Regions from separate parts of the Homo sapiens genome. Here all the other regions are linked to region 1. The links are contacts of gene promoters, found by promoter capture Hi-C in blood cells and fetal thymus (Javierre and others, 2016). All regions are on one chromosome and are shown on one strand. Each heading gives the region's core, a stretch centred on a gene start or on the middle of the fragment in contact. The rest is flanking DNA. Distances are from core to core; before and after follow the strand shown. Region 1 holds the start of LMAN2L (lectin, mannose binding 2 like). Region 2 overlaps SNRNP200 (small nuclear ribonucleoprotein U5 subunit 200). Region 3 has its middle 55 kb from the start of NCAPH. Region 4 overlaps NCAPH (non-SMC condensin I complex subunit H). Region 5 has its middle 72 kb from the start of NCAPH.

What was found. The method cuts DNA at HindIII sites, captures the fragments that hold promoters and counts their contacts. A CHiCAGO score of 5 or more calls a contact.
Region 2: a fragment that was not itself captured here is called in contact with the fragment with the promoter of LMAN2L in region 1 in 1 of 17 cell types (naive CD8 T cells); the score reaches 5.3 in naive CD8 T cells.
Region 3: a fragment that was not itself captured here is called in contact with the fragment with the promoter of LMAN2L in region 1 in 2 of 17 cell types (naive CD4 T cells and total CD4 T cells); the score reaches 5.6 in naive CD4 T cells.
Region 4: a contact is called between a fragment that was not itself captured here and the fragment with the promoter of LMAN2L in region 1, in 6 of 17 cell types (total CD4 T cells, naive CD8 T cells, non-activated CD4 T cells and 3 more). The highest score is 7.2, in total CD4 T cells.
Region 5: a contact is called between a fragment that was not itself captured here and the fragment with the promoter of LMAN2L in region 1, in 1 of 17 cell types (activated CD4 T cells). The highest score is 5.2, in activated CD4 T cells.

What each region holds. Positions count from the first base shown.
Region 1 is chr2:96,737,452-96,742,534 of GRCh38, forward strand. LMAN2L (lectin, mannose binding 2 like) reads right to left here and starts at 2,613. Exons shown (of 8, transcript NM_030805.4): 1 at 2,403-2,613; 2 at 498-616. The coding sequence starts at 2,589. RefSeq lists enhancers at 989-1,928, 1,929-2,866. The HindIII fragment of the contact is 9,784 bases long and covers 1-5,083 here.
Region 2 is chr2:96,293,298-96,296,311 of GRCh38, forward strand. SNRNP200 (small nuclear ribonucleoprotein U5 subunit 200) reads right to left here. Exons shown (of 45, transcript NM_014014.5): 14 at 2,191-2,361; 15 at 19-212. Among named protein-coding and RNA genes, the nearest start is that of SNRNP200, 11 kb to the right of the region's middle. The HindIII fragment of the contact is 1,472 bases long and covers 535-2,006 here.
Region 3 is chr2:96,388,227-96,393,986 of GRCh38, forward strand. No RefSeq gene overlaps it. Among named protein-coding and RNA genes, the nearest start is that of NCAPH, 55 kb to the left of the region's middle. The HindIII fragment of the contact is 6,592 bases long and covers 1-5,760 here.
Region 4 is chr2:96,354,492-96,359,692 of GRCh38, forward strand. It overlaps NCAPH (non-SMC condensin I complex subunit H), which reads left to right. Exons shown (of 18, transcript NM_015341.5): 10 at 4,554-4,702. Among named protein-coding and RNA genes, the nearest start is that of NCAPH, 21 kb to the left of the region's middle. The HindIII fragment of the contact is 4,220 bases long and covers 1-3,467 here.
Region 5 is chr2:96,405,208-96,410,682 of GRCh38, forward strand. No RefSeq gene overlaps it. Among named protein-coding and RNA genes, the nearest start is that of NCAPH, 72 kb to the left of the region's middle. The HindIII fragment of the contact is 601 bases long and covers 3,541-4,141 here.

The DNA of each region.
Region 1 (5,083 bases), core at 1,363-3,862:
CCAGCCTGGGCAACATAGCAAGACCCCATCTCTACAAAAAACGTTTTAAAAATTAGCCAGGTGCAGTGGCACATGCCTGTAGTCTCAGCTACTCAGGAGGCTGAGGCAGGAGGAGCCCTTAAGCCCAGGAGTTTGAGGCTGCAGTGAGCTATGATTGTGCCACTGCACTCTGGTCTTCTTATAATCTTCTTACAAAGTGGTTAAGCAGGAGTTAAGTTATTATTAAACCCTAAGAAGTAGTACTATTGGGCCAATCAGGAATTAACGACATTTCAGGAAAAAAAAATGAATTATTTGCTATAATTAAATAGAGAGCATTTTCCTAAATACCTGATTTATTTATTATCAAGGTCAGAATAATCTCAAAAATAAAGATCCTTGATATCCACAGAAGATAGAATACCAGGGGGATAGACAGTAAAATTAAATCAGTATGCCACTGCTGAACTTTTTAGGCCTTTCTGGGTCACCAACACAGGAGGGAGAAAGATTCTTACCACCCGGTTCCACAAGGCACCCTGTTTACTTTGCATATCTGGGGTAAGGCGGATATACTGGGTCATCACCATGGCATTGCCCATCAGATTCCACAGTGAGGAACTGCCTGTGCCCACACCTACAGGAAGGAAGTAGATCAGTTCATACTTTTCAACACCAATCCATTCAGAAAGCAGCCACCACAGAGCCTCTGAAAGCTGAGCCATCATCTTTTTCCCCCTTTAATGTCACTCAATCTCCTATCTTCTCTCAGTCATGAATCTTACCATCTCTACAGCTTTCACAAGGCCTTTATCAGGTAAGGACCCCAAAGCACATCAGAACTCTCACTTTATGCATGTTACAGTAACCATAGCTCACATCCATTCTTCCCGTTTTATATGTGAGTAAACTTCAGCATCGTAAAAGAAAAAAATTTTCCTGAGTTATATCAAAAAGAGTTTGACAGGCCAGGTGCAGTGGCTCACCCATGTAATCCCCACACTTTGAGATGATGTGGAGGGAGGGCATCTTGAGGTCAGCAATTTGAGACCAGCCTGGGCAACATAGAAAGACCCTGTCTTTACCAAAAAAAAAATTAGCCAGGTGTGGTAGTCCTTGTCCATAGTCCTAGCTACTCAGGAGGCTGAGTTGGGAGCATCGCTTGAGCCCAGGAGATTGAAACTGCATGAGCCATGATTGTGCCACTGCACTCCAGCCTAGGCAACGGAACAAGACCTTGTCTCTAAAAATATATAAATATAAATAAAAAGAGTTTGACCCTCAGGCCTCCGGGGCTTAGTCACATTCTTCCTTTTTTTTTTTTCTTTGAGATGGAGTCTCGCTCTGTTGCCCAGGCTGAAGTGCAGTGGCATGACCTCGGCTCACTGTAAGCTCTGCCTCCCGGGTTCACGCCATTCTCCTGCCTCAGCCTCCTGAGTAGCTGGGACTACAGGCGCCCGCCACCACACCTGGCTAATTTTTTTGTATTTTCAGCAGAGATGGGGTTTCACCGTGTTAGCTAGGATGGTCTCAATCTCCTGACCTCGTGATCCGCCCACCTCGGCCTCCCAAAGTGCGGAGATTACAGGCGTGAGCCACCGCCCCAGCCGTCACATTCTTTCTTTAAACAATCCTTAAAGTGTGAAGCTACTCCCTGTACCCTCACCTATAAACTTCTTTAAGAATGAAAACTTTGTGTCTGCAAACCCATAAGCATTAGCAAAGAGACAGCACAGAGGCACTCCAGGCATGTAAGTGAATAAATGATTACCCTTAGTAGTAGAGTATACTCTTGCACTTTGAATTGTTTTCTGTCCCACTACCTACGCCTTAGTGGGGAAAGACTTGTGTTAGTTAAGCCATCTGCACTGGTTTGTCATCGTTTTGTGGCTAACTGCATTAATTTTCTGGCTGATAAGCTGTGCTTAGAGTTCTGTGAACCCTAACCTCTTTCACCAACAGGGCCCCTAGGCTGGAGAAGAGAAGGTGGTTCTACCCAGCAACATAAATTTATCATCTTCTCATTTCGTTCAAGTTCTACCCCAGTTCTTCCTCCTGCTTTATTTCTAGCACATCCACAGGTCCATCTGGAGACTGGCTCATTGCTAGTAGCCCTCAATCACTCCTCACCATTCTCAATTCTCTCCCCTTCCCAAACTCCTCCTGTCTAACTCCAGGCCTAGTACTAGTGGCACCCGACAGCCCTGCCTTTACCTACTGGAAACTTCCAGAGCTTGGCAGGCACACCTAACTCCTGCCTTTCAGACCTGTGGCTCCCAAACGCGGAGGGAGTCTCCGTGGGCCCCACCACCGCCAGCAGTTTCCTCCGGGCCACGAAGCCCTTCGCCGCCCCCGCCTCTACCCCTGAAATCAAGTCCCGAAGCCCGCCCCACTGCACGACCACCTCACCCTGGGCGCCTCACCCTGGTAGGGCTTCGACAGCGAGTGCTCCCGTTTCAAGTACTCGAACGTTTGACCCGCCCCGACTTGCTGTGGCCCCTGCCCAGACCCCAACAAAAGAAGAAGGAGTAACATCCTGGACCCATCCCGAGCCGACAAACATCGCCGCCACTGCTGCCACGACCCAAGGGGTCCCAGAGTCGCCGCCATCTTTCCCACCAACGACCCTTCATCAAAAGCCCGCCCCGTCGCCCAACCCATTGGCCCGAAGAGCCATCTGCCCTGCGTCCTATTGGCTTTCGTCAAGCCCCCGCCCCTGCAGGTGACTATATCACCGATTGGCTGGCTTCTGTATCAGTTGCCTTGCCAACCCAGAAAAGGGGCGTAGCCGAATGCCCAGCCCCCCCCCTTATTTGCATTTGCCCTGAGTTCCACTAGGCTTGCTGGGATACGTAGTTTATTTGTATTTTGTTTTCTGCGTACGAGAGTAAATTTAAAGAGATAAAACGTTTCTTCTGGTCCCAAACATTCTATCCTCTCTGCAATAGTACGCTCCTGACTGCAGCTCTCTGAATCAATTTGGAAGATATAGCAGTGAAAGGAGAAATAGACAAATCCGTAAAATAGCTGGAAAACTATCAATTTATAAAAGACTTGAACAGCACTACCAACTAACTTGACCTGATGATATTTATAGAAACTCCACCTAACAACTGCGGAAGACACATTCTCTTCAAATGCAAATGACTCCTTTGCCGTGATAGTCTGGGCCATCAAGCAACCTACAGATATAAAAGAACTGAAAGCACACAAATTAATTAATTCTAAAAGCCATCACCTCCTTTCCTCCCTTCCTCTTTTTTTTCTTTTTGGTTTGAGACGAGGTCTTGGCCAGGCGCGGTGGCTCACGCCTGTAATCCCAGCACTTTGGGAGGCCGAGGCAGGCGGATCACCTGAGGTTGGGAGTTCGAGACCAGCCTGACCAAGGTGGAGAAACCCCGTCTCTATTAAAAATAAAAAAAAAAATTAGCCAGGCGTGGTGGCACGTGCCTGTAATCCCAGCTACTGGGAGGCTGAGGCAGGAGAATCGCTTGAACCTGGGAGGCAGAGGTTGCAGTGAGCCGAGACCAAGCCATTGCACTCCAGCCTGGGCCACATAGAGCAAAACTCCATCTCAAAAAAAAAAAAAAAAAGAGAGACAAGGTCTTGCTCTGTTGCCCAGGCTGGAGTGCAGTGGCACAATCTCAGCTCCAGCCTCTCCCTCCCTGGCTGAAGTGATCCTGCCACCTTAGCCTCCTGAGTTACTGGGACTACAGGCACATCCCTTCGTCTTTATCCGGCACCACAACATGTGTCCAGACTGGTCTCCACGTAGCCACTAAAGTGATCCAAACTATCTAACCATGGTAAGTGTCAGGGTTAAATGAGTCAATATTGGTAAACCTCTTAGAACAGTGCCTTGCGTGTAGTAAGCACTATTTCTTTCTTTTTTCTTTTCTTTTTTTTTTTGTTTTTGTTTTTGTTTTTGTTTTTGAGACAGGGTCTCTCTCTGTCACCCAGGCTGGAGTGCAGTGGCATGACCACAGCCTCAACCTCCTGGACTCAAGGGATCTTCCCACTTCAGCCTCTCAAGTAGCTGGGACTACAGGTGTGTGCCACCTCACCTTGCTAATTTTTATTTTTTGTAGCTATGGGGTTGTGGGGGAGGTCTCACTAAGTTGCCCAGATTTGTCTCATACTTCTAGACTTCAGTGATCCTCTCTCCTCAGCCTCCCAAAGTGCTGGGATTAGAGGTGTAAGCCACCGCACCAAGCCATAAGCGCTATTTCATCATCATCATTCTTATTAACCGGGCCTTTGATGGCTCACCATCACCTGTGGGGAGGAGATTCAAGCCCCTCAATTTGGCACACAAAGCCCCCTGCCATCTGGCCCTGGCCTTATTGCCCATGACTCTTTTCCTCCATCTTTATGCTCCAGCTTCCCTTCCCTCTTTTTTTTTTCTGCAGTCCACTTCCTTCTGGAGGTCCTTCTCAAACCTCTCAGGCAGGGTAGATTCTCCTGTCTGAGCTCTCAAAGTGTTCCATGCACATCTCATATAGAGCAATTGACAGATCTGTGTTTATGTCTTCCCAATAGACTTAACCAAAGTTAACACTCTCTTGCTTTCCTGAGCATGAATATATTTAATAAGATAAACATAATTATGAGCCTACTTTACAGGGGATCAACTTTTTAAAATTAAAGCTGTCACAGCTATTTTTTTTAAAGAGATGGGGTCTTGGCTGGGCACGGTGGCTCAGGCCTGTAATCCCAGCACTTTGGGAGGCAGGCGGATCACCTGAGGTCAGGAGTTCAAGACCATCCTGGCCAACATGGTGAAACCCCATCTCTACTAAAAATACAAAAAATTAGCCAGCCGTGGTGGCACACGCCTGTAGTCCCAGCTACTCAGGAGGCTGAGGCAGGAGAATCACTTGAACCCAGAAGGCGGAGGTTGCAGTGAGCCGAGACCGCACCACAGCACTCCAGCCTGGGCAACACAGTGAGACTTCGTCTCGAAAAATATATATATACATATATATACAAAAATTAAATGGGCGTGGTGGCAGGTGCCTGTAATCCCAGATACTTGGAAGGCTGAGGCAGGAGAATCACTTGAACCCAGGAGGTAGAGGTTGCAGTGAGTCAAGAAGATCCCACC
Region 2 (3,014 bases), core at 21-2,520, 450 kb before region 1:
CCCAGTCTTTCCTGATACCTGTTGTCAAAGTAAAAGAGACCCTTGGCAGGGTCAACACGTAGAAAGGTGGCTACATCTTCATAGTTGGGTAGGGTGGCACTGAGACCAATGAGTCGGACATCCTCTTGGGTCATCTCAATGTTTCGGATGGCCCTGGCCACTAAAGCTTCTAAGACAGGACCTCTGTCATCGTGGAGAAGATGAATCTCATCCTACGGAATTGGAGGACAGAAATTACCTCTAGCACTAGAGATACATAGTCCCTTTTCCTGGAATTGTCCCATATTGTAGGCATATAACCTAATATGCCTAAGAAAAAAGACAAGGGATCCCAAGCCACAGATGCCCAAAGGATGGAGACAATATTTCCCATGAAATACTCCAGAAAGTAACAGACTCTGACCATGAGTTGCTTTGGTACAGTTCAGTAACATACTTTGTATAAAGAAATTCTGAAACTCAGATAAATGAGTTTAAACTTTACTTAAAGGTAAACTTCTTTATGAAAAAGGATATAAATATGATCTGATCAGAAGCTTCACCTCTGGCAGTTATAGTTCCCAAGAACAAAAGCTATCACACATCAAATGATGAGTTTGAATAGTCTAAAGCAGTGCATCTCAAATTTTATTAAGTATCCCAAAGCCAGGGGATGTTGTTAAAAAGGAGATTGTATTCAGCAGGTGTGGGGTGAGGCCACAAATCCTGCATTTCTAACAAGCTCCTATTCCATGCTGCTGCTGCTATGACCCCAACCATGGATCAGGCTTCAAGTAGCAAAGCTCTAAAGCAGGGACCAGAAATGTTTTTTTTAAAAAGTCAGATGCTCCATCTCAAAAAAAAAAAAAAAAAAAAGCCGGGGGCAGTGGCTCACGCCTGTAATCCCAGCACTTTGGGAGGCTGAGGTAGGTGCATCACCCAAGGCCAGGAGTTCGAGACCAGCCTGGCCATCAGATTGGTGAAACCCCATTTCTACTAAAAATACAAAAAATTAGCTGGGCATGGTGGCGGGCAACTGTAATCCCAGCTACTCGGGAGACTGAGGCAGGAGAACTGCTTGAACCCGGGAGGCGGAGGCTGTAGTGAGCTGAGATTGCATCATCGCACTCCAGCCTGGGCAACAAGAGTGAAACTCCGTCTAAAAAAAAAAAGCCAGACAGTCAGTATTTCAGGCTTTGGCCCACGCAGCCCCTATTGCAAATACTCAGCTCTGCCATTGCAGCCAAAAGCAGCTGTAAACAATACATAAACAAATGGGTGTAACTATGTTCCAACAGAACAAAGCCAGTACCCACAGACTGCCAACCCCTGCTCCAGAACACTGAAAACCAACACGTGAAGTCTCCTTTCTTGCTTTTCCCAGACAACTTAAACTATACTCAGACTTAGTCACTAATCTCTGGAAGTTTCTGTGTATATGGAATACAATATCCTGCTTCCTCACTCATTCCCTCAGAGAATGGATTCTTTTACTTATAAAACCCTAAATGATGTTGGATATGATGGTTTTTTGTCTATCTGTTTACATTTGTTTCAAAATATTTCAGACATAGCTTCTTGGCCTTTTGGCTTAAGATCAAGTGTAGTAAAATATTTCAGACATAAAAAAATATATAAAGAATAACATGGCAGGCTAGGCGCAGTGGCTCACGCTTGTAATCCCAGAACTTTGGGAGGCTGAGGTGGGTAGATCACGAGGTCAGGAGTTCGAGACCAGCCTGGCCAACACAGTGAAACCCAGTCTCTACTAAAAATATAAAAATTAGCTGGGCATGGTGGCAGGCGCCTGTAATTCCAGCTACAGGGGAGGCTGAGGCAGGAGAATTGCTTGAACTCGGGAGGCAGAGGCTGCAGTGAGCCAAGATCGTGCCACTGTACTCAGCCTGGGCGACAGAGCTAGACTCCATCTCAAACAAACAAACAAACAAATAAATAAATAAATAAGATGGCAAACACAAGCTGACAATAGCTGTCATTATAATGTTTTGGATGGCCCTGGCCACCAAAGCTTCTAAGACAGGACCTCTGTCATCGTGGAGAAGATGGATCTCATCCTACGGAATTGGAGGACTAGTCATTACAAAGGCTAGTGCCTACAGAAAAGGCAGCAAAGAAACATTTCGCATGAAAACCCAGCAAACCCGCCCTGACACAACTGGACTCTATATTCTACGACTGCTCCCAACTCACCAGAATGATGAGCCGCACCAGCTGGGTGTAGGTGCGCTCACCACCCTTGCGGGTGATGATGTCCCACTTCTCGGGGGTGCAGACGATGATCTGAGTGGCACTGATCTCTTCTTTGCACAGCTGGTGGTCCCCAGTCAGTTCAGCAACAGTGATGCCATAAGTGGCCAGGCGCTGTGGGAGGAAAACTACATCAGGCAGGAATGCTTGAAGGGGCCTGGACACCATGCTTTCTGTTTGGGCAATTGGAGTGTAGGGCATTGGGAGCAGGTATCAACCCATCAGGTGAATACAAGGCGAATCAGATCTTATGAACATATCTTCCTCAAACAAATCCAAATTTAACTCAGGCAAATAAAGCAGACAAAAGATCTCTGGGGGCCAGGCATGGTGGCTCATGCCTGTAATTCTAGCACTTTCAGAGGCCAACGCAGGCAGAATGCTTGAGCCCAGGAGTTCTAGACCATGGTGAAACCCTGTCTCTACAAAAAATATAAAAATTAGCTAATCTAGTAGTACATGTCTATAATCACAGCTACCAGGGAGGCTGAAGTGGGAGGATCACTTGAACCTGGGAAGTTAAGGCTGCAGTGAGCCATGATTGTGCCATTGCACTCCAGCTTGGGCGACAGCGAGACCCTGTCTCAAAAAAAAAGACCTCTGGGAACTCTGTACACAAGAGGAAGAAATGGCAACTTGTAGATAAGAAGACCTACAATACACCACTAGGTCTATTATCATCCACATCCATTTGATGTTTCATAAACACTTCAATAACACAAATGATACGAACTGCAGAAAATTGCCATGGAGAGGATGAAAGAAAG
Region 3 (5,760 bases), core at 1,914-4,413, 350 kb before region 1:
TGCTCTGTTGCCCAGGTTGTAGTGCAGTGGTGCAATCTCAGCTCACTGCAACCTCCACCTCCTGGTTTCAAGTGATTCTCCTGCCTCAGCCTCCGAAGTAGCTGGGATTACAGGCACACACCATCATGCCCAGCTAATTTTTGTATTTTTAGTAGAGACGAGGTTTCGCCATGTTGGCCAGGCTGGTCTCAAACTCCTGACCTCAAATGATCTGCCCGCCCTGGCCTCACAAAGTGCTGGGATTACAGGCATGAGCCACCTCATCCAGCCTTTTTTTTTTTTTAATGTAGAGACAGGGTCTCGCTCTGTTAGCTAGGTTGGAGTGCAATGGTGTGACCATAGCTCATCAAACTCCTGGGCCCAAGCAATACTCCTGCCTCAGTCTCCCTAGGAGCTACAGGAAGTAGGATTACAGGCATGTGCCACCACACCTGGCTAAATTTTTTTTGTAGAAACAGGGTTTCAGTATGTTGCCCAGGCTGGTCTTGAACTCCTAGGCTCAAGGGATCCTCCTGCCTTGGCCTCCCAAAGCTCTGGAATTACAGGCATGAGCCACCATCCCAGCCTAGGATTTCTATTTTTATTTTTATTTATGTATTTATTTTTCTGAGACAGATTCTGGTTCTGTCACCCAGGCCAGAGTGCGGTGGCATGATCTTGACTCACTGCAACCTCTGCCTCCCAGGTTCAGGCAATTCTCCTGCCTCAGCCTCCTAAGAAGCTGGGATTATGGGTGTGCACCACACCTGGCTAATTTTTGTATTTTTAGTAGAGATGGGGTTTTGCCATGTTGGCCAGGCTGGTCTCAAACTCCCGACCTCAGATGATCTGCTCACCTCAGCCTCCCAAAGTGCTGGGATTACATTTTTATTTATTTTTTATTTTATTTATTTATTTATTCTATTTTTTTTTTTTTTTTTTTTTTTTTTGAGACAGAGTCTCTGTCACCCAGGCTGGAGTGCAGTGGCGCGATCTCGGCTCACTGCAAGCTCCGCCTCCCGGGTTCACGCCATTCTTCTGCCTCAGCCTCTCTGAGTAGCTGGGACTACAGGCGCCCGCCACCGCGCCCGGCTAATTTTTTTTTGTATTTTTAGTAGAGACAGGGTTTCACCGTGGTCTCGATCTCCTGACCTCATCATCCGCCCGCCTCGGCCTCCCAAAGTGCTGGGACTACAAGCATGAGCCACCGCGCCCGGCCTTTTTTTTATTGTTTTTATTTTTAATTTGAGATTCTCCATTTCTTCATTGATTGTATATTTTCCTTCAATTATTTAAACATATTTATAATAGCTACTCGGAAGTCTTTGCTAAATCAAACATCTGGGCCCGCATAGCATCAATTTCTATTTGCCCCTTTTCCTGAATAGAGATCACATATTCCTGTTTCTTTGCATGTTTAGTAACTTTTGGTTGAACATTGGATATTGTAGATACAATGTTATAGTGACTTTGGATTCTGTCATGTTCTTCTAAAGATGCTTGGATTTTTATTCCAGTAAGCAGTTAATTGTCTGGATTCAATCTGCAAACTTCACATCCCTCACAGTGTAGTTATTGATATCTGTTCTTTTTGTGACCCGCTATTGCTTTAAGCCTGATCCCACAGGTCTTTCCTCTGCCTGCCAGATTTGGTGGCTAGCCAAGTATTTGGGCAGACATGGGGTTCATCGTGGCTGTGACTTCCTTGCTTCTAGGGATTCCCCTAATTTCCAGCCGCTCTGCCTGCTGTGTGCTCTGTCCTTAACTTCAGCTTTTTGAAACCCAAGATGCATGTGTTTGAGGCAAGGAGCATCAGACCCACAGCCCTTGTTCTGCATAGCTGTCTTTCAAGAGAAGACTCTTTCACCAGGCCCTGAGGGGTTTGCTTCACGTAGGCACAGCTGAACTGTCAGTGGAGCAAAGCAGCTCATGCCCAGAACTGTCTTGTTGTTTGCTTGTTTTGATTTTAGTTTTAGTTTAAAACTCTTCTGAGGCAGGGTGTGGTGGCTCAGGCCTGTAATCCCAGCACTTTGGGAGGCCGAGGCAGTAGGATCACTTAAGCCCAAGAATTTGAGACCAGCCTAGGCAACAGTGAGACCCTGTCTCTGAAAAAAAATCAATCAATCAATACATAAATTTTCCAGGCGTGGTGTCACACGCCTGTGGTCATAGCTACTTGGGAGGCTGAGGTGGAAGGATGGCTTGAGCCCAGGAGGTCAAGGCTACAGTGAGTTGCAATTGTGCCACTGCACTTCAGCCCGGGCGACAAAGCCAGACCCTGTCTCAAAAAACAAAAAACAACTATGGCTGAGTGCAGTGGCTTATGCCTGTAATCCCAGCACTTTGGGAGCTTGAGGCCAGAGGATCACTTTGAGGCCAGAGGATCACTTGAGCCCAAAAGTTCAAGACCAGCCTGGGCATTGTGGCGAGACCTCATCTCTACAAAAAATACAAAAATTAGCCAGGCATGGTGGCATGGGCCTGTAGTCCCAGCTACTCAGGAGGCTGAGGTGAGAGGATCACCTAAGCCCAGGAGGTCGAAGCTGCAATGAGCCGTGTTTGCACCAATTCATTCCAGCCTGGGGCTACAGAGCAAGATCCTGTCTCGAAAAAAATAAAAAATAAATAAAACTCTTCTGGTTTCTGTCTGATTTCCAGTATCTTTAAGTTTGGGGTTTTTGTTTTGTTTTGTTTTGATTTTTTTTTTTTTTTTAATACACAGAGTCTCACTCTGTTGCCCAGGCTGGAGTGCAGTGGCATGATCATAGCTCATTGTAATCTTGAACCTCTGGGCTCAAGCGATCTTCCTGCCTCAGCTTTTGGAGTAGCTAGGACAACAGGCACATGCCACTATGCCCAACTTATTAAAAAAAAAAAAAAGAAAGTTTTGTAGAGATGGAGTCTCTCTATGTTGCCAAGACTGGTCTTGAACTCCCAGCATCAAGGAATCCTTCTGCCTTGGCCTCCTAAAGTGTTAGGATTACAGGTGTGAGCCACCATACCTGGCCTTTAAGTATTTTTTTTAAATCCAGTATTTTACTGTTTTGAAAGCCCCCAGCTAAATTGGGGGTCCGGTACCACAGTGCCTAGCAACACCGCCCTAACACGAAATAAGCAGGAGCAGGATGTGGGTGTTTACACTGTGCCTTTCGTTACTTCTAACTGTGGACAGCCTGCTGCTTAGTTGTCTGATCCATGACCAGGTGTCCCTCACTGGGAAACTTGTTTATACTGGCAGACACCTGGTGGCCCTTGTCTGACCCATGTCCTGCCTGCCCATTGCTCTGATGCTAGGATCCTGACCTTGTGTTCTCCCTGGCATCCCAGGGAAAACTCCGCCTGGGGTAGCCCCTGGTTCTTCAGATGGAGGGCGCAGTACACCATAATCAGAAACAAGCTGAAAGATTTATTACTTTCAGATCCTGGGCAGGGAAGGCACAGTGAGTCAGGAGGATGTCTCCTGTCCCTGGCTCACACGAAGCAGGAACAAAGGGTCAGGCAGAAAGAGAGAGAGAGAGAGAGAGAAAGAAAGGGAGAGACAGAGAGAGAGGCAGCAACTGACAGTATGTATAAGGAGGCTCATCAGAGCCCAGGAGTATAGATAAGGAAATAGGATGTGGGTCACCTTAAGTTCATGCACAAATGCCTGAATGGTCCATTAAACAGAAGCAGCAGGAAAAGTGGGGAGCTGCTAGGTGAGAGAGCTGCTTCTAAGTTCTTACCTCTGGTCACCTGCTTGAACCATTTGGGTGTGTGGTTCTGCTTCTAATGCCTAGGCAGCAACCTTCGCTGTGTCATTCCCATGACATTTATCACTGTTGGTTTGGGGGTTGGCGTGCTCACTTAACTCCTGCCTCTACCAAATGGTCACTCTCCACCAGTTGCGTGTGTGTGTGTGTGTTTGTGTGTGTGTATTAGCCCTTGCATGTGTGTGTATTATCTTGCATTGCTGAAAAGTAATACCTGAGACTGGGTAATTTATAAAGAGGTTTAATTGGCTCATGGTTCTGCAGCCTATAGGAAGCATGACACAGGCATCAGCTCAGCTTCTGGGGAGACCTCAGGGAGCTTTTACTCACAGTGGAAGATGAAGCAGGAGCAGACATCTCACATAGCAGAGCAGGAGCAAGAGAAAGAGAGTAGGGGGCCAGGTGCAGTGGCTCACACCTGGAATCCCAGCACTTTGGGAGGCCAAGGTGGGCAGATCACTTGAGGTCAGGAGTTTGAGACCAGCCTGGCCAACATGGTTAAACCACGTCACTACAAAAAATACAAAAATTAGCTGGGCGTGGTGGTGCGCACCTGTGATCCCAGCTATTCAGGAGGCTGAGGCACGAGAATCACTTGAACCCGGAAGGTGGGGGTTGCAGTGAGTCAAGGTTGTGCCACTGCACCACAGCCTGGGTGACAGAGCAAGATCCTGTCTTTTAAAAAAAAAAAAAAGAGAAAGAGAGTGCAGTGGGGGAGATGCCACACACTTTTAAATGACCAGATCTCACGTGAACTCAGTCACTATTGCAATGACAGCACCAAGAAGATGGTGCTAAACCATTCATGAGAATTCTACACCATGTTCCAATCACCTTTCATCAGGCCCCATCTTCAATATTGGGGATTACAATTCAACATGAGATTACGTGGCATCATGTATTGAAACTGTATCAGTGTGTGATTGTATGTGTGTGTTTCCCACTGCACTCAGCACCCAAGCATGTATTGTTGACCCCACACCATCAGGTGGCCTCCGCCAGCCCTCTCCCCTCCTGTCCACTGAGCCTCCCAGCTCTTCATCCTTCCCCTGCACACTGACCTTTTATATCTGTCCCTGGAGCAAACCATGCCCATTTCCGCTTGCTGTTCCCTCTGCATGGAATGCTGTGTTCCCAGGTTTCCAAGTGTTGACTCTGCGAGAAAAGGCCACTCCAAGAAAGAGGGATCTTAAAGATTCAGCTTCCATGTTACTTCCTGGTGTGTCCTTTCCTGACCTCCCAACATATCCCCCACGTCCCTCTCACCTCAGCCTCTTTTATTGTCTCCATGGCCTTATTGCTATTGAAAATGATCTCAGTTGTTAACTCCAGAACGGTAGCTCCCTAGGGGAGGGACCTTGCCTTCCGTACCAACCGGATCTCCAGCCTCTAAAGCAATATATAGTAGGTACTCAATAAACATGTACTGAATGAGTAAGTGATCCTTTTTTTTTTTTTTTTTGACGGAGTCTCGCTCTGTCACCCAGGCTGGAGAACAATGGCGTGATCTCAGCTCACTACAACCTCCACCTCCAGGGTTCAAGCGATTCTCCTGCCTCAGCCTCCCAAGTAGCTGGGAATACAGGTGCATGCTGCCATACCCAGCTAATTTTTTTTTGTATTTTAGTAGAGACGGGGTTTCACCGTGTTACCCAGGCTGGTCTTGAACTCCTGAGCTCAGACAATCCACCCACCTCAGCCTCCCAAAGTGCTAGGATTACAGACGTGAGCCACCGCACCTGGCCAGATCCCTTTTAAAACAAAAGACAAACTGACAATTAATCAGTGAGCAACCATAGGACATAGGGTTGGAGGTGCGGGCTAGGTACTCTTAAAATTGCCTAACAGTGCAGTGCTGGACCAGACCCCTAGCCTCTGTACGCCTCAGATTCCTCATCACCAGACAGGCATAACCATCCCTGCCTTGCTTGCTTCACAGGCCTAATGTGGACCGGAGTGCTTTGGAGAAAGTTGAAACTGTACAGGTATCAAAGAATGTCTTCTAGAAGAGCTGCTCCCATAATTCTGTAGA
Region 4 (5,201 bases), core at 108-2,607, 380 kb before region 1:
CCCCCCCCAAAAATAGAGACGGGCATCTCACTGCATTGCCCAGGCTGGTCTTGAACTCTTGGGGCTCAAGCAATCCTCCTGCTTTGGCCTCCCAAGGTGCCAGGATTTCAGGTGTGAGCCACCATGCCTGGGCACTATCAGTTCTTAACAGATTTCCTGCTGGGGTGATTGAATTTGATGTCTGATTGGCTGGGCTGGTGTGCTGTGTCATACACATCAGCTGAGCTTTTCAGCTGAGCCTTTCTGACTCAGAGGAATCACACCTGGCTTTGAATGTCGGCTTAGCCACTTTGGTTATAAAACTGACATTGCAAGAGTTTGTAAGGATTAGAACAATGTAAAGCGTTTGGAACAAAGCACCTGGGATCTAGTAATTACGTCAATGTGGCTGTTGTTACCACGTGCATTTTGGTAGCAGAGAGCATGCTCCCTTTGTACACATTGCTTATAGTGTGGCTGTTGGTGACTCTAAGCCACCAATTTACCACCTGAAAGGTAAGCAAGTGGGGGTTAGGCAGTGTTGGGTTACCAGATGGGCAGACTGGGGACGAGCAAGGCAGGGAAAACAAAACCAACCAATAAATTGAGAATATTTGGAGGAGAAGAAGAAGAATTGGTTTAGTAATTAAATTTTTGATTACCCTAGTAAACATCATAAAAATAATCAGAACTTGGTTGGCCTTTATGTACTTAATAGGTTAGTATTGTTTTAATTCTAAATATGATTTGGAAGCAGGGTCTCACAACACTTTAATGTCATGGTCCTGTAAAGGTCTTCAATGGGCCTGGGGGTAGGAGATTTCATGAGATTAGAGTGAACAGTCCCTCTGTTAACTCCTATGTCTGTAACAGAGCTTTGCAGAACTGGGATTGGGGACAGCCAAGCTGGTTTTGAGTAAAACCTTAGAAGTTGCTTAGTATAATTTCCCGCTATGACAAAAATCTCTTCAAGACCCTGCTCGGATGTCTTTCCTAAGCTCATTTTGTCTGCCCTTGTGGGAAACGATTAGGCTGATAATGTCTTTTAAAGACATTATCAAGGCGCCACTGCCCATCCAGGCTCAGTAGCACCCTGCTCTCCGGAATTGTACTGTTCACATGGCTGCAATTTTGCCCCATTCTCATCGTGTCTTTTTTGTTTTTATGTTTTTTTGTTTTTTTTTTTTTTGAGACAGAGTCTCGGTCTGTCGCCCAGGCTGGAGTGCAGCAGCGCGATCTCTGCTCACTGCAAGCTCTGCCTCCCGGGTTCACACCATTCTCCTGCCTTAGCCTCCCGAGTAGCTGGGACTACAGGCGCCCGCCACCATGCCTGACTAATTTTTTTATTAGAGACGGGGTTTCACCATGTTAGCCAGGATGGTCTCGATCTCCTGACCTCATGATCCTCCCACCTCGGCCTCCCAAAGTGCTGGGATTACAGGCGTGAGCCACTGCGCCTGGCCATCCTGTCTTCTAAGAAGGGAGAAATGATAGGTTGATGGGATGAACTCTTAAAAACATCATTTTCAAATGTCAGAGAAAAGCTATCACTTTCCTTAAACAGTGAGGTGACATCTGAGGGACTGACAATAACAAAGGGCTTCCATGACTTTTATTTGGTTTCTGGAAGATGTTTTCTGCTGGTTATTTTGAACAAATGTCTCCACTTCTCTCCCCTATTCCAAACAGCACAAAATCTTAGACTCTATCCTACCTAGTACATTAGGCGTGGGAGGCTGCAGTTCTAGTCTCAGATTTTACCCATCCTTAAATCCCCTCCCCTTGCCACATCGCTGGCCTTTCCTGGGAATTCAGTGAGTGTTTGATCTGGAGTAGATCTGATCTTGCCGTTACTAGCCCTGAGATGTGGGGCAATGTTATCACCTTTTGCGGTCTTTGTTTTCTCATCCATAAAATGCAAGGTTGGGACCAGTTGATAATAACAATATCTGATATTTATTGAGCTCCTTATTCTTTGTGCAAGATGCTGCGCCAGGTGCCTTATGTGTGTTATTTCACATAATTTACATAATATCTAAAATTAATTATTTTATTGCAGCAACCCTATAATTAGGTCCTATTATCCTCATTTTACAGATGAGGAAACAGGCTCAGAGAGTTTAATGGGGTGGAGCTGGTTGCCACCCAGCACCTTTGACCAGTCCTGGCCACATATAGTGAGCTTTGGATGGCAGGCTCCAGTCCACACCACCTGAGCATCTCAGTGGGTAGAGGGGGCCAGACATCACGTTACCATCCCCGGGTGATTGTGTTCTGCACCCAGGGCTGAAAACCACTGTACTCTACTGAGAGGTCTTCGGAGGCCTCTGGATGAAGGTGGGGTGGGGCAATGCTGAGTGATAAATACCAGTGTTGTGTAGATGCCTCACGTTATTGGTCTCTGCATGGCAGCACATTGACAACTGCAAGCGTAAAAGGTGGAGCTCTTTGTGCACATGCATTGGTAAGGACTGGTCTGCAAAAGTGCTTGATGTCTAAGAGTGAGCTCCCTCTCTGTGCAGCAGCAACAGCAGCCCAAGAACACTTGGAGCCAAGTGTTCTCTGGCCGACCCTTCTGTAGTACCAGCATGCTTACATAAGGCAGTTACTGTGGTTAATGACCTAGTCGGAGGTCAAAGCCCAGAACACAGCCTACTTCACGCATGCGAGAATGAAACATTCGGCTGCATGCTGCCTGATGTGCTGAGCCAGCTGGGAGGAGACCTTATCTTGCCAGTGTTAGGACAGTGGATTGAACCATGGCTAAATTGAAGGAGGGACCCTGTGATATTATGGGGAGGGGATAGAAGAAATACAGAGTTTTCCTGGAGGGACTGGAGATGTTTGAAGTGGGCAGCCTTGAAAAATGGATAGACTATTTTGGACTATAGGTGGATTCATTTAGTTGTTGAGTGGTGAAATTGGGACTGGTAGGATGCCTGCGACATAGCATTGTATGTTGAAAGAATTATTGAATTACTACAGTTCAAAAATCCTGCAGAGCCTCTGTCCAGCTCCATCACCAGAATTGGGAATGGGAGCCACTCTTCCTAATGGAAGAATATCCATCAGAATGGAGTGGGGATGCTGTTGAAACTTCTTCCTTCTACCTCTGGAGTTCACAGCACAGTGCATTTGTTACTTAATAACATGCTAGGTATCAGATTCTGTTACAGCACTAGGCCATACAGACTAGAAATGTGATTTTTTTATTGTGTATTTTATTTTTTTAAATTAGGTTTTAATTACACAATAAATGCACAAATGTAGTCTCCTGTTTTTGTTTTTTAAAATTCTGTATGTAAAGACAAAATCCCCTTTTAAAAGCCTTTTTAGCTTATTCCATATGGCTTATATAAACGGGAACTATATGTAGGCTCAATACAAATACAAGGCCACTCTTCTGAAACTTCTTGGTTACCTTACCTTCAGAGGGCAGTACAGCAGCACCAGCGTCCTTTCTGACATGTTGGAGCCCTTTAGGAGAAAGCTTGTACCTTGTGGAAAGAGTGAAAAATGGCTGGGCACGGTATAATCCTGACACGCCTGTAATCCTAGCACTTTGGGAGGCTGAGGCAGGAGGATTGCTTGAGGCTAGGAGTTCAAGACCAACCTGACCAACATAGTGAGACCCCATCTCTATTTTTTAAAAATGTAGAAAGAGTGAAAAACCAAACTGAAACTGCCATGCTGCACTGACCACTTAGACACTTTACACACGGCAAAGAATAAAGCTGGATGACCTAACAGATTATAAGGGGAGCCCCCAAAGCGTTAGAGGAACTAAATAATTAGACAAACATGTTTTTTCACTTTTAGTAGGAACTATAGCGGTATCTTTTGGAGCCCTCATTTACAGAAGGATGGTGACGAATGAGGGATTTGTCATCTTGTGTGGCAAGAAGCATGTGTGTGGAAAGACCCCGAGGCTGGGATTAAGGGACTTGTGTCCAGCTCCCAGCTCCGGCATTTTACTAGCTGTAGATTCTTACCCAAAGGAATTCTCTTTTTTTTTTGAGACGGAGTCTCACTCTGTCACCCAGGCTGGAGTGCAGTGGCGCGATCTCGGCTCACTGCAAGCTCCACCTCCTGGGTTCACGCCATTCTCCTGCCTCAGCCTCCGGAGTAGCTGGGACTACAGGCGCCCGCCACCACGCCCGGCTAATTTTTTGTATTTTTAGTAGAGACGGCGTTTCACTGTGTTAGCCAGGGTGGTCTCGATCTCCTGACCTTGTGATCCGCCCGCCTTGGCCTCCCAAAGTGCTGGGATTACAAGCGTGAGCCACCGCGCCCAGCCAAAAGAATTCTCTTTACTTTTGTCATCTTGTCTCTCAAATTAGGTAGACTAGCATTTTATGGTGCACTTTGAAACTTCCAGAGTACTTGTATAGATATGATTATATTGTTATAAAATTAAGGGAAGGAAAAGTACTTGAGAAGTAAAAGGAATTATTAATAATGAAGTTATTTGTATTGGACTCACAGAAATGCAGCTCATTTGCGGACATATGCTTCATATGTAAATACAGCATTATAATATATGTATTGTACATGTACAAATATGTGTGTTACAGGGAAGAAATGATTTCCCTTGGGGATGGAGACATCAGGACCATGTGCCCCCTTCTGTCTATGAAACCTGGAGAATATTCTTATTTCAGTCCTCGGACCATGTCGATGTGGGCTGGCCCGGATCACTGGCGCTTTAGGCCTCGACGCAAACGTATGTAATTCTAGGTGGAATTTTAAGAAAAGAAGTAGTGTAGATGACCAGCCAGTCAGCAGTTAGCCAAGGAAAAGAAATGCCAGTCACAGCCCTGTTGTGTCTCTTAATAAGCCGAGGAAGCATACAGATGAGCCAGCCTCCTGGTTGGTCAGTTTGCCTGGCCTGGGATGAAGGGACAGTGAAAATGGAAGCCTCTGAGTGAGGAGAGTGAGTACTGGAGTCAGGAGAACTGGACTCCCAGCCTCACACTGCTCCCTAGTATCCACATGACTTCACTCAGTGGTCACGGGTGGGCATGACCCCCGGGCACTAGAGGGCACACAGGAGCTACTGCACATGTTGGCATTCTGTAGAACTCCAAAGGGCTGTGCTGACCTTATGTGTTTTGCATTGTCTCTTTGAAAGAAAGGGATAAGCATCTGTTGTTTTATGTTTTGTTTTGCTTTTGAGACAGGGTCTCACACTGTCACCCAGGCTGAAGTGCAGTGGTGAATCA
Region 5 (5,475 bases), core at 2,591-5,090, 330 kb before region 1:
GATCCAATGGGAGGATTGTGTGAGCCCAGGAGGTTGCAGTGAGCTGAGATCGCACGACTATACTCCAGCCTGGGTAACAAAGTGAGACCTGGTCTTAAAAAAAAGAAGGAAATATATAGCAAAAGTCTGGAAGACTGGATCCCTTTGAGGGGGACCTGGATGGGTTTAATAAGATGGGAGAAGAGCTTAATAAGAATCTCTTATTTGTATAATTAAAAAGAAAATGTTAAGATACATTTTTAAAACAAAAGATTCTTCATCTAATTTAATCCCCATCTCATCCCTCACAACCACAGCAGGAAAACTGAGTCCACATAGCAATTTCTCACCCTCTTTTCATTTTTATTTTTTGCCAGAATAAAAGGTGTCAGTGTTGCTCTGGCCACTGTTGTGGTTAGCAATGTGAATTCTGTGCCTTCAGTGCCTCTGATGGGAATCCTGCTTTGGAGGATGTGCCTCCTTCTCCATCCAGGGAGGAATTCCACCTGTAGCTTAAGACCCTCCCTCTGTTTAAATTCCTGGAGATTTTGCTGGAAGGAGTTGAAGGCAGGTTTCCTTTTGTAAGAGGCCATCCGGGCCACAATCTCAGGCCTAGAAGGGCTCTGAAATAGAGTTAGGGTGCCCCTCCATCCCCTCCTGCTGGAACAGTCACCAGACACCCCAGTAGAGGCCGTGTCTTCCCGACACCCTGCCCACCGAGACCCAGGAGGCTGGACTGCCAAAGACCCCATTTCAACAAGGGGAGCATCTGGATACTGTGTGGGCTTTGACAGGGAATAAAACAGGGTGTGAAACCCTTTTGTCCAACCCTGACTTTGGCAGGTTCTAAAACAGGTGGGGAGGCGTTGTAACACTGCTGGCTCTCCACAGTCAGCCTTGTCTTCCTTCTTTGCCCATCTGGCCCACAGGCTCAGGGAAGGTGACCAGAGTCCCATCTCCAGCTCAGCCCAATCTGATTGACTGAACCAGTCACAGTGGCCCCATTCCCCTTGTCCATTGTTGGTTTACAAATGGGCATGTGATGCAGCTCTGGCCAATGAGATGTACAGGAACATTTGCTGGGGGATAGTTTCTTAGTTTCTTTTTCTTTTTTTCTTTTCTTTTCTTTTTTGTTTTTTTAGATGGAGTCTCGCTCTGTCCCCTAGGCTGGAGTGCAGTGGCGCGATCTCGGCTCACTGCAAGCTCTGCCTCCTGGGTTCACGCCATTCTCCTGCCTCAGCCTCCCGAGTAGCTGGGACTACAGGTGCCCGCCACCACGCCCGGCTAATTTTTTATGTTTTTAGTAGAGACGAGGTTTCACCATGTTAGCCAGGATGGTCTCGATCTCCTGACCTTGTGATCTGCCCGCCTAGGCCTCCCAAAGTGCTGGGATTACAGGCATGAGCCACCGCGCCTGGCCGATGGGGGATAGTTTCTTAAAAAAACTCACAGCGAATCTTCCCCGCAGAGCTGGGAGTCTGCGTGGGCCTGCAGCTGCCATCTGGCAGGCATGGGAGGTGGGGCCAGGCTGTATGCTGAGGATGGCTGAGGGGGAAGGACTCTTTTTTCGCTCCTGTTTTTTTAAAGTTGTACATCAATATTTTATAATTGTATAAATTGTTGGAGTACAAAGCGATGTTATGATTTATGATTCTTTTTTTAGAGAGTGGGGGTCTTGCTCGGTTACCCAGGCTGGATTTCAGTGCCATAATCATAGCTCACTGCAGCCTCAAACTCCTGGCCTTAAGCGATCCTCTTGCCTCGCCTCTCAAGTAGGGGGGAGTATAGGCATGTGCCACCACATCTCTACACATTTTTTTGTAGAGATAGGGTCTTACTATATTGCCCAGGCTGGCCTCCAACTTCTGGCTTCAAGTGATCCTCCCGCTTCAGCCTCCCAGAGTGCTGGGATTACAGGCACGAGCCTCTGTGCCCATCCATGATTTATGATTCTTGATGGTACCAAATTGAGCTACTAAAGTAGCTGACCCGGAGTTGCCTTGCCTTGGGGCTGCCTGTGATGTGGGATGACAAAGCCTCCTTGTTTAGGTCATTGGAATTAGGTTTCCTGTTGCTCATGGCTGCAAACATCCTAACAGATATGTGAGGAGACCACCTCCAGCTCACCAAATACACCCCCTCTCCTTTCTTCTCAATAATCAGTGAAATTTGCTATTTCGTGCGCGCTGTGTTCCCTACCGCCGCTTGCTCCTGCTCAGGTGGGGTGAGCCTCCTCCCAGCCAATTACTGGAAATTTCTGCCAAGGGGCATCTTGGAGCCTCTCTCACCCCCGTTCTCACCAAATACAGGCACTTCCTCTGAGAGGACGGCAGAGGGCGCAGATTTAGCTTCTGTCCTGCGAATGAAGCACGCAGTACAAGGTTCCAAACTGCAAGTCAACAGCAAGCACGAAGCAGCCACACTGGAAATGGGGTGCCTCCATCGCCTGGGGCTGTGGGCTGCCATCCTCTGCCAAGCGGATGCTCTGCCACCAGCTCCACTGACATGGGCAAGCCACTTCCTGTCGCCCTGGCCCCCAGCTCCTCATGTGTAAACATGGGGGTTGAATGGGCCTCTTCCAACTAGCTGGGTTTCATCTGTTGGCTGAAAACAACGGTCCCAGTGTGCCAGCCAAAAGCAAGCCTTTCACGCCCAGACTCAGCCTCAGGGACTGCAGGGGCCAGCTCCCCCAGAGGGGCCCGGGGACAATGATGTCAAATCTGTGACATCAACACCCACACAGAAAGGATCCAGTCCTTTCAGCCTCTCAGACTCTCTCAAACTGTAACGAAATGGGTGGGGTTTTTTTTGTTTTGTTTTATTTTTGTTTGTTTGAGACAGAGTCTTGCTCCATTGTCCAGGCTGGAGTGCAATGGCGCGACCTCGGCTCACTGCAACCTCCGCCTTTCGGGTTCAAACGATTATCTTGCCTGAGCCTCCTGAGTAGCTGGGATTACAGGCTCCTGCAACCTTGACTGGCTAGTTTTTGTATGTTAGCCAGGCTGGTCTCAAACTCCTGACCTCAAGTGATCCTCCTGCCTCGGCCTCCCAAAGTGCTGGGATTACAGATGTGAGCCACTGTGCCTGGCCCGAAATGGTTATTTGAAAGGATACAAGGAGTGGCGTAATCACAGAACCAGACCAAACTGAGCCTACTCTGTTGATAAGAGAATGTCAAGTTACCTTGTAGGTATAACCAAGCCAAAACTGCGAGTCATGTAGTCCAGGCACAATAGAAAAAGCTTTGACCTCTAACAACACCGGAACCAATGATTTCTTCCTGCAGAGCCAACAGGACTGGGACATGACCAGAACCTGAACACTGGAACCCTTTCAAAAGGAAGGAGTCTATGGGCCTGGAAGATCTGGGGCTAAAATCTGCCTCAACATACCTTACCACAAATGGTTAAATTTGAAGCCCTCCAATCAGACCCTGCCAAGCCAACATTCCTAAATACTTTCCCTTGCCCTCTGACCCCTTAAAACGTGCCCCACACCCCAAATTGGAGAGAGAAGTTTGAGCTGTGCCTCCTGTCTCCTTGCTGGTCTGCCTCACAATGAAGCTTTTCTTTTCTCAAAGCTGGAGCAGCAGTGTTGGCTTCTGTGCAGTCAGGCAGCAAGCCCATTTGCTCGGTAATAGCTGGAGTGAGAGTACTGAGACAGTAGAGATAAGACTTGGCTTCAGCTCAGCCCCACTACAGCATTCCCACGGATCACAAAACCCACACCACTACCCCACGATGCCATAATGTTTAACCATGCCGCTTACTTAAAGAACTCTGGCCAGGCGCAGTGGCTCACATGTGTAATCCTAGCATTTTGAGAGGCGAGGCAGGCGGATCGCTTGAGTCTGTAAGTTTTAGACCTGCTTGGGCAACATGACAAAACCCCGTCTCTCCAAAAAAATACAAAAATTAGCTGAGCATAGTGACAAACACGTGTAGTCCCAGCTACTCAGGAGTCTGAGGTGGGAGGATCACTTGAGCCCAGGGAGGTCAAGTCTGCAGTGAGTCATGATGGTGCCATTGTACTCCAGCCTGGCAACACAGCAAGACCCTGTCTCAAAAAAAAGAAAAAAAAAAATTCCAGGAACTGGCCTGAGGAGATAACCAAGGTTGCACAGTGTCGCATCCCAGGAAGGAATTCTGAACAATTGATTTAAAGCTTTGTTGCTACCAGCCAGACCACCAGGTGGCCCATTATTATTAATGGGTCATGGTTATCCTGACCATGAAAACCATGGCAATCAAATATGCTGACCTGCACACCCTACCCCTTATGAGGTCTGCCCGGCTCAGCCTGCTCGCCCTACCCCTGATATTAGTTCCTATGCTTTGTCTAATAAAAAAATCTCCACCAGCTCTTTTTGGAGAGTCAGTCAGGAAATTCTCTCTCTCTCTCTCCCTCTCTCTCTCTCTGTCTCTCTCTCTTTCTGTCGCTCTCTCTGCCTTTCTCTCACTGTCTTTCTGTCTCTCTCTGTCTCTGTCCTTCTGTCTCTTTCTCTGTCTTTCTGTCTTTTTCTCTGTCTCTGTCTCTCTCTGTCTCTCACTCTCTGTCTCTCCGTCACTCTCTCTCTCTGTCTCTCTATCACTCTCTCTCTCTCTCTCTCTCTCTCTCTCCTCTCTAGTGCTGCCTCCCTTATGTCCAGGCATAAGCTCTAATGAAGCCTCGTCTGGGAAAACTCTTTTGGCCTCATGTCAATTTCTTTTACATCCAGAGCCAACAGCCTGTGGTGGGTAATCGTCCCTTCTCTAATTACTTGCCCAGCATCTACCAAGCAGGCCCTGTCAGCGGGAGTCCTGCCTGCACTCCTCCCGGGGCGGATGCTCTCCTCTTGGCTAGCCCAGACAGGTGCCCTTGGGGCTCCCCGCCAGGCAGGCACTGACCTCCCGCGGTCCAGCCACCTCCTGCTCTCAGGGATGCCCCAGCCGGATCTCAGCCCAGCAATCCCGGGTCTCCAGCCTGCCGCTCCACCCTGGGCTGCCTCCTGACTGTTAACACATGACATTGACAGGGACTGTCTCTGTTATGGGTTGAATGTTTGTGTTCCCCCAAAGGAAACGAGAATATTTCACCCCAAAATATACCTCTTTGGCTTATTTTGAGATGGCTATTCAGAGAGGCTGCAAACAGAAGAAGGACTTTGAAAAGCTGCCTTTCGTGAGGGAGAGTTGCACCTGGAGAGAAAATCTATGTTAGTGAAATCAATGCCCAGGCTTTCCCTGAGGACCCTGTAAGCAAGTGGGGTGCAGGGGTGAGGGGGTTGGGGGATCTCAAAGGATTATAGGAATTTAATCAACTTAAGCAATCAGCCTGTTTTGGGTTTTTTTGTTTTGTTTTGTTTTTTGTTTTTTTTGAGACAGAGTCTCGCTCTTTCACTCAGGCTGGAGTGCCAGGCTGGAGTGTGATCTCGGTTCACTGCGAACTCCACCTCCCTGGTTCAAGGATTTCTCCTGCCTCAGCCTCCCGAGTAGCTGGGACTACAGGCTCGTGCTA